3 separate regions of the Homo sapiens genome follow, and regions 1 and 3 are each linked to region 2. The links are contacts of gene promoters, found by promoter capture Hi-C in human tissues and cell types (Jung and others, 2019). All regions are on one chromosome and are shown on one strand. The core of a region is centred on a gene start or on the middle of the fragment in contact, and the rest is flanking DNA. Distances in the headings are between cores, read along the strand shown.

Region 1 (4,018 bases), core at 654-3,153, 500 kb after region 2:
ACCCGGGGTTGGGTTGGGGGATGGTTTCAGGATGAAACTGCTCCACCTCAGATCATCAGGCATTAGTTACATTCTCATAAGGAGCAAGCAACCTAGATCCCTCACATGTGCAGTTCACGATAGGGTTTGTGCTCCTATGAGAATCTAGTGCCGCTGCTGATCTGACAGGTAATGCTGGCTCACCCACCCACCATTCACCTCCTGCTGTGTGGCCCCGTTCCTAATAGGCCACAGACGAGCTCCAGTCCATGGTCCGGGAGTTGGAGACCCCTGCTTTAGACTGAAGACATCTGAGATACAGCAGACACAGCTAGATACTTTTTTTGTTTGTTTGTTTTTTTCCGAGACGGAGTCTCTCTCTATCACCCAGGCTGGCGTGCAGTGGTGCAATCTCAGCTCACTGCAACCTCCACCTCCTGGATTCAAGCGATTCTCCTGCCTCAGCCTCCCAAGTAGCTGGGATTACAGGTGCACACCACCACACCTTGCTAATTTTTGTATTTTTAGTAGAGACAGGGTTTCACCATGTTGGCCAGATTGGTCTCAAACTCCTGACCTCAAGTGATCCGCCCGCCTCGGCCTCCCAAAGTGCTGGGATTACAGGGGTGAGCCACTGCACTCAGCCTAGAGGCCTTTTTTGAGCTTCCCATATATGATTAAAGGCAGAGATTTCTGATCATGAAGCTGCCATACATCCCCTCTCAAGGTGCCTGTTAACACCAAGAGTAAACCCTGTGTAAGCAAGCCCTCTGAAAACCTTCCATACTTCCCTCCAAAGTCCTAACCACCCTATTTTTACGATGCTGATGTATGAACTCTCACCCCTGGCGGCTCCTGGAGCCACTCCTTTTGGAGTGCTCCTAAATACAGTGAAAGCGAACTTTTCTGCTGTTATTCTTTCTATTGTCAATTAAATTGCCATCCTCTCCACCTCCCCACCACTCAGATCTATTGGTAAAGAAAAGCTTTCCTAGGCCGGGCACAGTGGCTCACACCTGTAATCTCAACACTTTGGGAGGCCAAGGTGGGCAGATCACCTGAGGTCGGAAGTTCGAGACCAGACTGACCAACATGGAGAAATCCCATCTCTACTAAAAATATAAAGTTGGCTGGGCGTGGCGCATGCCTGTAATCCCAGCTACTCGGGAGGCTGAGGCAGGGGAATCGCTTGAACCTGGGAGGCAGAGGTTGCAGTGAGCCGAGATCACGCCATTGCCCTCCAGCCTGGGCAACAAGAGCGAAACTCCAACTCAAAAAAAAAAAAAAAAGAAAGAAAAAGTTTTCTGTCAAAGCTGGGAACACATGTTAATACTTTTCTGGTGGTTAACTCTATGATTCTTCTTTAAAATCCTATAGTTTCCCTTTTATTACTATTCTATAAATCCTCAGTTCCTTTTGATTCTTTTATTGCTTATCTTTACACTTTCAAATAATAATCTCAAAACTCCATTTCTTGTTTTGTCAACTGAACTTGCCCTTGGACTATGTGAGAGCATCAGCACCTGCTGCTCGGTCGCCAGCGCAGCGGCCCCTCCTAGCTCTGGCCAGCAGCACTCCAATTTTGACAGCACTGAGACTTGCCCACTTGCATTCTATTCTGCAACTATATTGGATTTGTCCATGTTTTTGTCTAACTGCTGTTTCTACAAGATAAAAATCAATATGCATCAAATGCATTATATTGACTACTATGTAAAAAGTGGTCATTATAGCCTGCTGTGGTGGCTCACGCCTATAATCCCAGCACTTTCAGAGGCCAAGGTGGGTGGATCACCTGAAGTCAGGAGTTCGAGACCAGTCTGGCCGACATGGTGAAACCCTGTCTCTACTAAAAATACAAAAATTAGGCAGCCGGGCGATGTGGCTCATGTCTGTAATCCCAGCACTTTGGGAGGCCTAGGCGGGCAGATCACAAGGTCAGGAAATCGAGACCATCCTGGCTAACATGGTGAAACCATGTCTCTACTAAAAATACAAAAATTTAGCTGGGCATGGTGGCGGGTGCCTGTAGTCCCAGCTACTCAGGAGGCTGAGGCAGGAGAATGGCGTGAACCTGGGAGACAGAGCTTGCAGTGAGCCAAGATGGCGCCACTGCACTCCAGCCTGGGTGACAGAGCGAGACTCCGTCTCAAAAAATATATATATATATACAAAAATTAGCCGGAGCCTATAAACTTGGGAGGCTGAGGCAGGAGAATTGCTTGAACCTGGGAGGAGGAAGTTACAGTGAGCTGAGATCGCACCACTGCACTCCAGCCTGGGTGAAAGAGCAAAACTCCATTTCAAAAAAAAAAAAAGGGGGTCGTTATAAACCCAAATGAAGTAGTTTCCCGATGCAGATGTTTTTGAGTGTCTGCGTCACCATAGTGACTTACTTTCCCCTATTTTGCCAACAGTCCTGAAATCTTGGTTGTATGGATCTTGAAGTGATCTTTCATGAGAACAACCCTGATCAACATTAAGGCCACACAGACAATCATCACACTGGGGTCACTGTCCAAACCAAACATAACTGTCTCAATCCCAATCTGCAAAATAGAAATGTATTAAAAACCTAAATCATGATGTGCTACATTTTCTTCTCCTTAAGCATAAAATGCACTGTTTCCTGTTATATTGAATATTTGATCAGATTCTGCTTAAAAAAAAGAAAATTTAAAAAGCTTTCTCAAGTCTAACAGAGCTTATAAAAATAAAAAGTAAAAATAAAAAGCCTTCATCAGACATTAGGGGCTGAGGTTTTCTGTTTGTAATTAAATGTGCCATTAACAAGAATAGAGAATACTTGAAAAAAAATTTTTTTTTTTTGAGACAGGGTCTCACTCTGTCGCCCAGCTGAAGTGCAGTGGTGTGATCTCGGCTCACTGCAGCCTCAACCTCCTGGGTTCAAGCCATCCTCCCACCTTAGCCTCCTGAGTAGCTGGGACTACAGAAGTGCACCACCATGCCTGGCTAATTTTTGTATTTTTTGTAGAGACGACATTTCACCATGTTGACCAAGCTGGTCTCAAACTCCTCAGCTCAATCTACCTGCTTCAGCCTCCCAAAGTGCTGGGATTATAGGCGTGAGCCACCATATCCAGCCAAGAATAGAGAATACTTAATCTCCATTTCTCTGTATAACATGCTGGCAAAATACTACATAATGCTCTTAGGCCCTTGGCCAACGAATACCTCAGTCAATCATCCAATTAACCTTGGTGGTTCGTTATTACCTGTCATAAACAATACAATACACCATTTCCTCTACCTCCCACATTTAAGGTTCTTTAAACATCAACAGTTCCATGTAGCTGAGTCCAACCCAGAATCAATGCAAGAGCATGTTCTTCAACCATTTTTAAGCATGGAGTTTTCCTTTCCTTTGAGTTCATAGTCCTCAGTAACTAGAGCTACTTAATATGTACATATGCAGGCAGGAAACCTGATGCAGAAGGGTCTTATAAATGCACTTATGAACCTGGGCAAGTTGCTGTGTCAAAATATGCACAGTCTAACCTCTGGCTGAGTTAGCTACAACCAATAAACAGTAGATCCATGCAATTTTTATTTGGGAGTTATCTTTATAAAATCACAGACAGAACTAAGAAGTCACGAATGTGAAAAGGCACAGGAAATGTAAATGAGTGAACAGAGCAAATCAGACAAGAAGGATGGAGGTAAGAGGGTAACAGGGAAACAGGGAGGTAAAGAGGGTAACAGGGAAATGAATGTGAGGATCAGACACTTTCTTCATCATTGAAATGGTCAGAACAGGGCTTTGGACCTAGGCAAAGCCTCCATGCCGGTGGTTCCCAAATTTCAGCATGAATCAGAATCCCCTGGAGGCAGAGCTGCCAGATACAATACAGAACCCCAGGCCGGGCGCGGTGACTCATGCCTGTAATCCCAGCACTCTGGGAGGCCGAGGTGGGTGGATCACGAGGTCAGGAGTTCAAGACTAGCCTGGCCAAGATAGTGAAACCCTGTCTCTACTAAAAATACAAAAATTAGCCGGACGTGGTGGCATGTGCCTGTA
Region 2 (4,350 bases), core at 647-3,146:
ATCCCAGAGCTGGGCCAGAGCTTTGTGCCTAATTACTATAATGATACTGCCATCGTCTCTCGCTTTCAAACCTGCGTTCTTTCAAAAGCTTACAAATAACTTGAGTACTAAACAAGTCCAATCCTGTTTTTAAAAGCACCACTTGAACTGATTCTGTAAGAAATCCTTTTGCAAAGTGAACCACCCATCTTGGAGATTCATTATCAATAGAACTTTCAGAGTCCCGGTGTGAGTGAGGCTCCCAGAAGCAGGTTACCCCCCTGGAAGGCTGGGCGGTGCCCTGCCTGGGCCTCCTCTTTCACTGGGAATCACCAAAAATCATGTTTGGGGGAATAATTAGATTTCTTCCCATTAATTACTCATCTACAAAACTTTCCAAAGTTAGCTTCCAGTTTTCATTTTCCAGAAGGAATGTCATCTCATGATAATCAGTTTAGGGGGTAATGCCACAACTTAATGATAATCTCCAGAAATGTGAGGCTGTAAAGCAAAACCCAGAAATTCACATTGGTACCTAGAAGGGGGTGGCCAGGACAACATACTTGACGAGGCCTGCTTTAAACCTAAGTCTGGACTCTTACACCATAGGAGACCACAGGAGACCCACCCCAAAAGCAGAACAATCAATCCCTGTAATCCCCTCTCTGCCAATCCCTACCCCCTCCTTTGCAACAGTTAGAGTAATAAAGTTTATAGTAATGAGTTTTATGCTTCTCTAGTGATGAAATTCCATCAGTGTCGGTAAAAATGAAACCGCAAAGGTGGCCAGCACCTGGGTTCCTGCCAGCCTTGAAGCCCCCGTCCCTCCCTCCCAGCAAACCAACCACGGCCTGCACTGTGGGTGCCTGTCACAGAGCTGATGTCCTCGCGGGTCATCCCTCATCCCCGCATCCAGACACCGGGTCATGTCCCTGTGCTTCCTGCCCACTAACTGGGAGGATGACGCAGCGGCGCCGGGAGTCCAGGGCTGATTGGGCCGGCGGTTCCCGGAGCCGAGCCCGCGAACTCACAGCATCACCACCACTGGGAGCTCCTTCGCAATGCAGATTCCCGGAGCTCCAGACCCCAGGCAGAAACGCGCCCGCGTCCATGCTCCACGAGCCCCCTTGGGGTGCCGATGCCCTGGGTTTTCGAATCTGGTCTGCACCCTCCCTGGTCTCCAAGAGAGGTTGAAACTGAGACTGAGTGTGATTTACCGGAGTCCGGACGTGAACCGAGAGACGGGGAGGTGTTGGGGGGGGGCGTCATAAAGAGCTCCCCAGTGCAGAGGGGGAGGCCTGGGGGAACATGGGGGAGACGTGCCGGGCGGCCCCCGCCCCCCCAGGACCCCCACTCACTGCCGGTAGGGGTCGTGGAAGGGCAGCGCCAGCCAGGCGCCATGCAGCTCGCGCATGAAGTCCAGCATCTCCTGGGAGCTGCCGTCGGCTGACACGAAGACCACTTCGAAGGGCGCGGGCCGCCGCGCCTCGGCCACCAGCGCCGTATAGAAGTCGCAGAGCAGCGGCGTGAAGTCGCGGCTCGGCGCGCACCGGGCCGCCGCGAAGTACAGTGCCACCACCTTGTTCTGCAGCGCCGCCTCGGCCTCCACCGTCGCGCCCTTACAGGTCACCAGGTGCCGCTCGCCCAGAATGTCAACCATGGCGCAGACACGCAGCCACCTGAGACCCGAGGACACCTGCAGGAGGATGATCACCTGCGGGGAGGCGGCGGCGAGCGCCGCGGTGCCCCGCCTCTGTCCGCACCACCGGGCGCTGGACCTCTCAAGACCTGCCCCAGATGCGCCCACACCTTGGCCAGGCCTCGCCTGTGGCTGGAGCAATTGTGTTCGCGCCGACAATGAGACACTCAGACACCAGAGACCCCAGATACCTGGGCGACAGCGCGGCACCCGCCTCTGGGAGCGGGGCCAGCCAGGCAACCTCAAGCCCTCAGGTCTCTGCACCCTCCCCCAACTGCGCCCCGCCCACACTCCTGCGCCCTCCCACCACTGCGCCCCGCCCACATTCCCCGCAAGCTCCCCAACTGCGCCCCGCCCACATTCCGCACTCTCCACCCACTGCGCCCCGCCCACATCCCGCACTCTCCACCCACTGCGCCCCGCCCACATCCCCGCCCCCGCCCCCACTGCGCCTCGCCCGCATCCCCACACTGTCCCCCACTGCGCTGGGCCCACATCCCTACACTCTCCACCCACTGCGCCCCGCCCACATCTCCGCACCCTCCCCCACCGCACCCCGCCCACATCCCCGCACTCTCCTCCAACTGCGCCTCGCCCACATTCCACAGTTTCCCCTCACTGCGCCCCGCCCACATCCCCGCACTCTTCTCCAACTGCGCCTCGCCCACATTCCACAGTTTCCCCTCACTGCGCCCCGCGCACACTCCCGCTCCCTCCCCCACTGCGCCCCGCCCACACTCCCGCGCCCTCCCCCTCACTGCGGCCCGCCGACATCCCGCGCCCCCGCCCCCATCCCGACTGCGCCCCGCCCACCTCCCGCGCCCTCTCCCACTGGTTGTCCAGCCCACATCCTGCACTCCCTCCACTGCGCCCCGCTCACACTCCCGCACCCTCCCCACACTGCGCCCTGCCCACACTCCTGCACTCTCTCCCCACTACGCCCCCTACCACATCCCGCGCCCCCGCCCCCATCCCCACTGCGCCCCGCCCACACTCCCGCGCCCTCGCGCCCCTGGGCTCTCCCGTCGTGGGCACTCTCCCCAGCGCTTCTACACTTTCTCCCGACGCAGCGCCCTGCCCTCCGTCCCGCCCCACCTATTGCCTCCTGCGCTTCCCCCACACCGTGCTCTTCCTCCTCCTTCACTTCCTCCCACTCCTCGCGCTCCCCTTCAGCGCCCCACGCAGCCCCTCCCCCAAAACCCCGCGTCGCTCTCCTTCCCTCCTGGCCTCTCTTCCAGTCTCGCGCTCCCTGCCGGGCCCCGCCGCAGGTGTCCCGCAGCCGTCTCCCCAGGGCATTTGAATCTTGCCTTGGAGCTCTTGCCGCGCGGCCCAGCACCCTGGAAGAGGCATCAGGGAGGATGGGACGACGAGGAAGGGGAAGGGTAATTGGGCTTGGAGCGGGCTTGGGCGGGGTGGTAGGGAACCTGAGCTCCGTTGGTTCAGGGTGTTTGCCCCTGACATCCTGTGGCCTGGCTGGGAGGGTTCGTGAAGTTCAGGAAGAAATTGGGAGCAGTCCTTACAGAATGTTTTATTTGAAGAACCAAGAGTATTAATTTTTTGGCGAGCACTGTTGTAGGCCCTGGGAATTCAGCAGTGAGAAAAATAATTTCAACTCCCTGCCAGACCCGGGCTAGAAGGAGGCAAGCGAGCGAGGCACTCGCATAGGGGCAAAATTTAAGGGCGCGACAAAAAAACTCAGTAGTCAAGGTAAATAATGTTTTAATACAATATCTTAAAAAGTCAAAATGAATGCAAAAAAAGTTTATAATGAACAAAATATCAAAAACTTAAAGACAGTGAATGAAACCAAAATATGCCATCCTAAAATATGCCGCTTTGGTATATTGATTATTTTGAGCGAGAGGCACTTGAAAAATAGCAAATGCAGAGAGACGTTCTCCCCTTACCTGTCTAAAGACGGAACCTCCAAAAGAAACTGATTGTCGTAAATTCCCTCCCGGGAGGATGGACTCTTATCACAGCAGAAGTCCACACCACACCTAGACAAACTTTGTCACAAACTCATAAAGACTTATGCATCTTTCCTAAAAATCAGTTACTCTCCCCTAAGTGGCCTACACCAGCTTCCAGTTCCCCAATTTTAGAAGCTCTCAAAGCTCACTGGTTTGGGGGGTTTTCACCTAGTTTCCTGCAATGCCCCCATGCAGGTGATATTAAAGATTAATAAATGTGTATTCCCGTTCCCCCCGTTCATCTGCCCGTTGGCAGTTAATTTCATAGAGCCAGCTATGGAACTGGGGAGGACAGAGAGAAGGTCTTTGCTCTCCTAAGACAAGATGGATCCCCCACTGACTTTGGACTCCCGTCACGTTCACCGACCCCTGAGTCCTGCTCCTGTGCCTGCCTGGAGCTTATGTTCTAACGGGCACAAACAATAAATAAGGAAGATATTTTGCAGGTGCTATGCCAAAAGAAGAGCCATGAGGAGGGGCGCAGGTTTTTGTTTTGTTTTATTTTGGTTTGGTTTGGTTGGTTGGTTGAGATGGAGTCTCGCTCTTGTTGCCCAGGCTGGAGTGCAATGGCGTGATCTCGGCTCACTGCAACCTCCGCCTCCCGGGTTCAAGCAATTCTCCCGCCTCAGCCTCCTGAGTAGCTGGGATTACTGGCGCGTGCCACCACGCCCAGCTAATTTTTGTATTTTTAGTAGAGAC
Region 3 (4,549 bases), core at 828-3,327, 280 kb after region 2:
CTCACTGCAACCTCTGCCTCTTGGATTCAAGCGATTCCCCTGCCGCAGTCTCCTGAGTAGCTTGGATTACAGGCTCCCGCCACCATGCCTGAGGCTGTTTCTCTGCTCAGGTCCCAGTGGCTGGTCTAGTTCCTCCACATACTTATGGTAACTTGGTCCTTTCCCTTACACTATTTTTGCGTGTTTCCTTTACAACTAAGAGTTCTACTCATGCGATATTTTAGTAAGGCAAAATATCTGGTCAATTGAACACACCCAATCCTGTAGTGAGACAAGTGCATCAGGGTGGAAAGATCTAGCTTTCAAGTTTGTCCAATGTATGGCATTTCACATTTTTATTTTCTTTTATTTTGAGACAGGGTATTGCTGCCACCCAGGCTGGAGTGCAGTGGCATGATCTCGGCTCACTGCAACCTCTGCCTCCTAGGCTTAAGCAATCTTCCCACCTCAGCCTCCTGAGTAACTGGGACCACAGGCACGTGCCACTCCACACCCAGCTAATCTTTCTTTCCTTCTTCTTTTTTTTTGAGACAGGATTTTGGCACGTTGCCCAGGCTGGTCTTGAACTCCTGGGCTCAAGTGATCTGCCTGCCTTGGCCTCCCAAAGTGCTGAGATTACAGGCATGAACCACCACGCATGGCCTCAAATTTTAATCTTTGAACACATTCCTAAGAAAGAAATACATTTGACATTGGGACTTGCTTTCAATGCACATGCACACACAGACACACATGGGAACATACAAAACACTTCATGATTTTTAAAAATTTAGAGATGGGGTCTCACCATGTTGCCCCAGCTGATCTCAAACTCCTGGCCTCAAGTGATCCTCCTGCCTTGGCCTCTCAAAGTGCTGGAATTATAGGCATGAGCCACTGTAACTGGCTGAAAACACTTTGATGCATGTTTGATGAGACCATATTTTTTACACTACGTCTCATTCTATCCTATTAGATTCCACTAGCAAAGGTAGTTGTTAACCTACTAAATCAATTCTGTTTAGTTGGATCGATTAATGGTTGTGATCTGCAGTTTGAAAAACACTGCTCAAATTATCTCTTTTTTGACGTTCCCCCAAGAGAAATATTGTGTCTCGTGACACTTTCTTCCAGGGAGAAAATTGGCACACCAGCCAACACGAGTATTTCTGCCTATTTGGAATCTATTTCTCATCACAGAAGATCAAACTGGGCTTCTGCGTACAGTGAGCTCACAGCCTCTGTGAGTTTAGTCACACAAGACTCTCCTGGGAGACCGAGCATTTACAAAATTGAATTTCTGACTCTGCAAAGCTGAGGACCCAGCCAGGACTTGGGTTCCCTCTCAGTCTGGGTATGTGCACATGGTGAACATCATCAATGCTTTGTTTTAATGTCATCTTCCCTAGGTACCCTTCTGTTATGAACTGAACTGTGCCTCCCCAAAATTCATCTGTTGGAGCCCTAACCCTAGTACATCAGAATATGACTGTATTTGGAGACAGGGTCTTTTAAGAGGCGATTAAGTTGAAATGAGGTCATATGAGTGGACCCTAATCCAATCCGACTAGTGTCCTTGTAAGAAGAGGAGATTAGGACACAGAAACATAGGCATGACCATGTGAGGACACAGGGAGAAGACAACTGTCTACAAGCCAGGGAGCAAGGCTTCAGGAGAAACTAATCCTCCTGACAACCTTGATTTCAGATTTCCAGCCTCCAGAACTATGAAAGAATACAGATGTCCCCCAACTTCTGATGCGTTATGTCCTGAAAAACCCATTACAAGTTGAAAAGACCATAAGTTAAAAATGTATTTCAGGCTGGGTGTGGTGGCTCACGCCTGTAATCCCAGCACTTTGGGAGGCCGAAGTGGGCAGATCACCTGAGGTCAGGAGTTTGAGACCAGCCTGCCCAACATGGTGAAACCCATCTCCACTAAAAATGCAAGAAATTAGCCAGGCACGGTGGTGTGCACCTGTAATCCCAGCTATGTGGGAGGCTGAGGCATGAGAATTGCTTGAACCTGGGAGGTGGAGGTTGCAGTGAGCTGAGATCACGCCACTGCACTCCAGCCTGGGTGACAGAGTGAGACTCCATCTCAAAAAAAAAAAAATATGTTTCAAACAATAACATACTGAGCATCATAGCTTAGCCTAGCCTACCTTAAACATGCTCGGAACACTTCCATTAGCTTACAATTGGGCAAAGTTATCTAACACAAAGCTTGTTTTGTAATAGTTGAATATCTCATGTAATTTATTGAATACTGTATTGAAAGTGAAAAACAGAATGATTGTAGGGGTACTCAAAGTACAATTTCTACTGAATTTGATACCAGTGGGCTGGGGGAGGTCCCCAAACACTGGTGGGACCAGATGAGGAACCCCAGCTGATGTCCAGGCTCTTAACATTGTTTGGAGAATGACTTCAAGGCTGGGTTAGAAAATAGTGAAAGTAGAGATTTATGGTAAAGGGAAAAGTACACACTCAAGAAAAGGGAGTGCACGTGTACTCAAGAGAGTCACGCAAAAGGGAGTTTGGGACTGCTGCCTTTATGAATTTCTGTAACCAAGGGGTGGAATATCCATGAAGATTCCTGGAAAAAGGTGGAGATTTCTTGGAACTGTGGTGCCACCCATTTGTACACCAAATATGGGGATTCTCAGAACCGTCATAACACCGGTGGGTATATGATTTAGAATGTTAATGAACATATAATGAGGTCCTAGGTGAAACCTAGGTCAAATCCAGCACCATGTTGGGTCCAGAAGGTTTTAGCTAGCTTGGTCTATACCCTGGGTTTTCAGAGTCTTATCAGCCTATAGCTGCTGCAGCTATTTCAACAGTTTCTTTTTGCTAGTCATGTGAAACTTCTGCCTGGAATGTTCTATTCTCCTGTGACTACCCTGTATTATTCCTATTTAAAATGATGGTGTGCATATTGCTTTCTCACCATCATAAAGTAGAAAAATTGTAAATTGAACCATCATAAGTTGGGAATCATCTGTGTGTTTCTATTTAAGCTGCCCAGGGTGGTACTTTGTTATGGTAGCCTGAGCTGACTTGTAGGCCTTCCTAGGTCTTTCCACAGGCATTTAAGAGTTGTCTGCTCTCCCCCTTTCCCTGGCTTCTGCCAAGTTCCCACAACACTTCATTCCTATCTCAGTTGTTGAAATTGCCATGCTATATCTTATTTATTTATGTGTGACAATAAATTACTGTAGGTTGTACTCATATCTTGGTGTAGAATAGTTTGTCAACAAATGCTTGTTTGGTTGAACTCAAAATATAAAATCTAAGAACAAATATTATGTCCTTCAAGATTGTCTCATAATTTCATTATAAAATGCTTTTCTTTCTTGAAGCAGACTCACCTTCATATCCAATGTATATTTGTATTAGTCCATTCTGACACTGCCATAAAGAACTACCTGAGACTGAGTAATTTATAAAGAAAATAAGTTTAATTGACTCACAGTTCCACAGACTGTACTGGAGGCATGGCCAGGGAGGCCTCAGGGAACTTACAATCGTGGATGAAGGGCAAAGGGGAAGCAAGCACATCTTCAAATGGTGGCAGGAGAGAGAGAGGGAGAGAGAGAGAACGGGGAAGTGCTATACACTTTTAAACAACCAGATTTCATGAGAACTCACTCACTATCATGAAAACTGCAAGGGAGAAATTCGCCCCCCGATCCAATTACCTCTTACCAGGTGCCTCCTCCAACATTGGGAATTATAATTCAACATAAGATTTGGGTAGGGACACAGAGCCAAACCATATCATTCCACCCCTGACCCTTCCATAATCACATATCCTTTTCACGTTTCAAAACACAATCAAGCCTTTGCAACAGTGCCCCAAAGTCTTAACTCATTCCAGCATTAACTCAAAAGTCCAAGTCCAAAGTCTCATCTGAGACAAAGCAGGTTCCTTCTGTCACTTCAGTTCCCTTTTGAGCCTATAGAATAAAAAAAACAAGCTAGTTACTTCCAAGATACAATGGGGATTCAGGCATTGGGTAAATTCCCCCTTTCCAAATGGGAGAAATTGGCTCAAACAAAGGGGCCCATGTAAGCCCAAAACCCAGCAGGGCAGTCATTAAATCTTAAAGCTCCAAAATTATCTTTTTTTGACTCCATGTCTCACATCCAGGCCACACTGATGTAAGGGGTGGACTCCTGAGGTTTTGGGCAGCTCTGTCCCTATGGCTCTGCAGGGTACAGCCCCTGTGGCTACTTTCACAGATTGGCATTTAGTACCTGTGGATTTTTCAGGTGCACAGTGCAAGCTGTCGATGGAGCTACCATTCTGGTGTCTGGATAGTGGTGGCCCACTTCTTACAGCTCCAGTAGGCAGTGCCCCAGTGGAGACTCTGTGTGGGGACTCTGACCCCACATTTCCCCTCCCCATTGTCCTGGTCAAGGTTCTTCATGAGGGCTTCACCCCTGCAGCAGACTTCTGCCTGGACATCCATGCATTTCCATACATCCTCTGAAATCTAGGCAGAGGCTCTCAAACCTCAACTCTTGTCCTCTGCATACCTGCAGACCCAACACCACATGT

What was found. The method cuts DNA at HindIII sites, captures the fragments that hold promoters and counts their contacts. A contact is called where the count stands out against the background at its distance.
Region 1: a contact is called between a fragment that was not itself captured here and the fragment with the promoter of NXNL2 in region 2, in 2 of the 25 tissues and cell types used here (dorsolateral prefrontal cortex and spleen).
Region 3: a fragment that was not itself captured here is called in contact with the fragment with the promoter of NXNL2 in region 2 in 2 of the 25 tissues and cell types used here (liver and mesendoderm cells).

The regions. Positions count from the first base shown.
Region 1 is chr9:88,032,667-88,036,684 of GRCh38, reverse strand. No RefSeq gene overlaps it. Among named protein-coding and RNA genes, the nearest start is that of LINC03026, 43 kb to the left of the region's middle. The HindIII fragment of the contact is 4,152 bases long and covers 1-3,979 here.
Region 2 is chr9:88,532,724-88,537,073 of GRCh38, reverse strand. NXNL2 (nucleoredoxin like 2) reads right to left here and starts at 1,896. Exons shown (of 2, transcript NM_001161625.2): 1 at 1,338-1,896. The coding sequence starts at 1,639. LOC105376134 (a long non-coding RNA gene) reads left to right here and starts at 2,534. Exons shown (of 2, transcript XR_007061653.1): 1 at 2,534-3,060. RefSeq lists enhancers at 442-1,275, 1,276-2,110. The HindIII fragment of the contact is 10,556 bases long and covers 1-4,350 here.
Region 3 is chr9:88,251,956-88,256,504 of GRCh38, reverse strand. No RefSeq gene overlaps it. Among named protein-coding and RNA genes, the nearest start is that of SPATA31C2, 120 kb to the right of the region's middle. The HindIII fragment of the contact is 8,068 bases long and covers 1-4,549 here.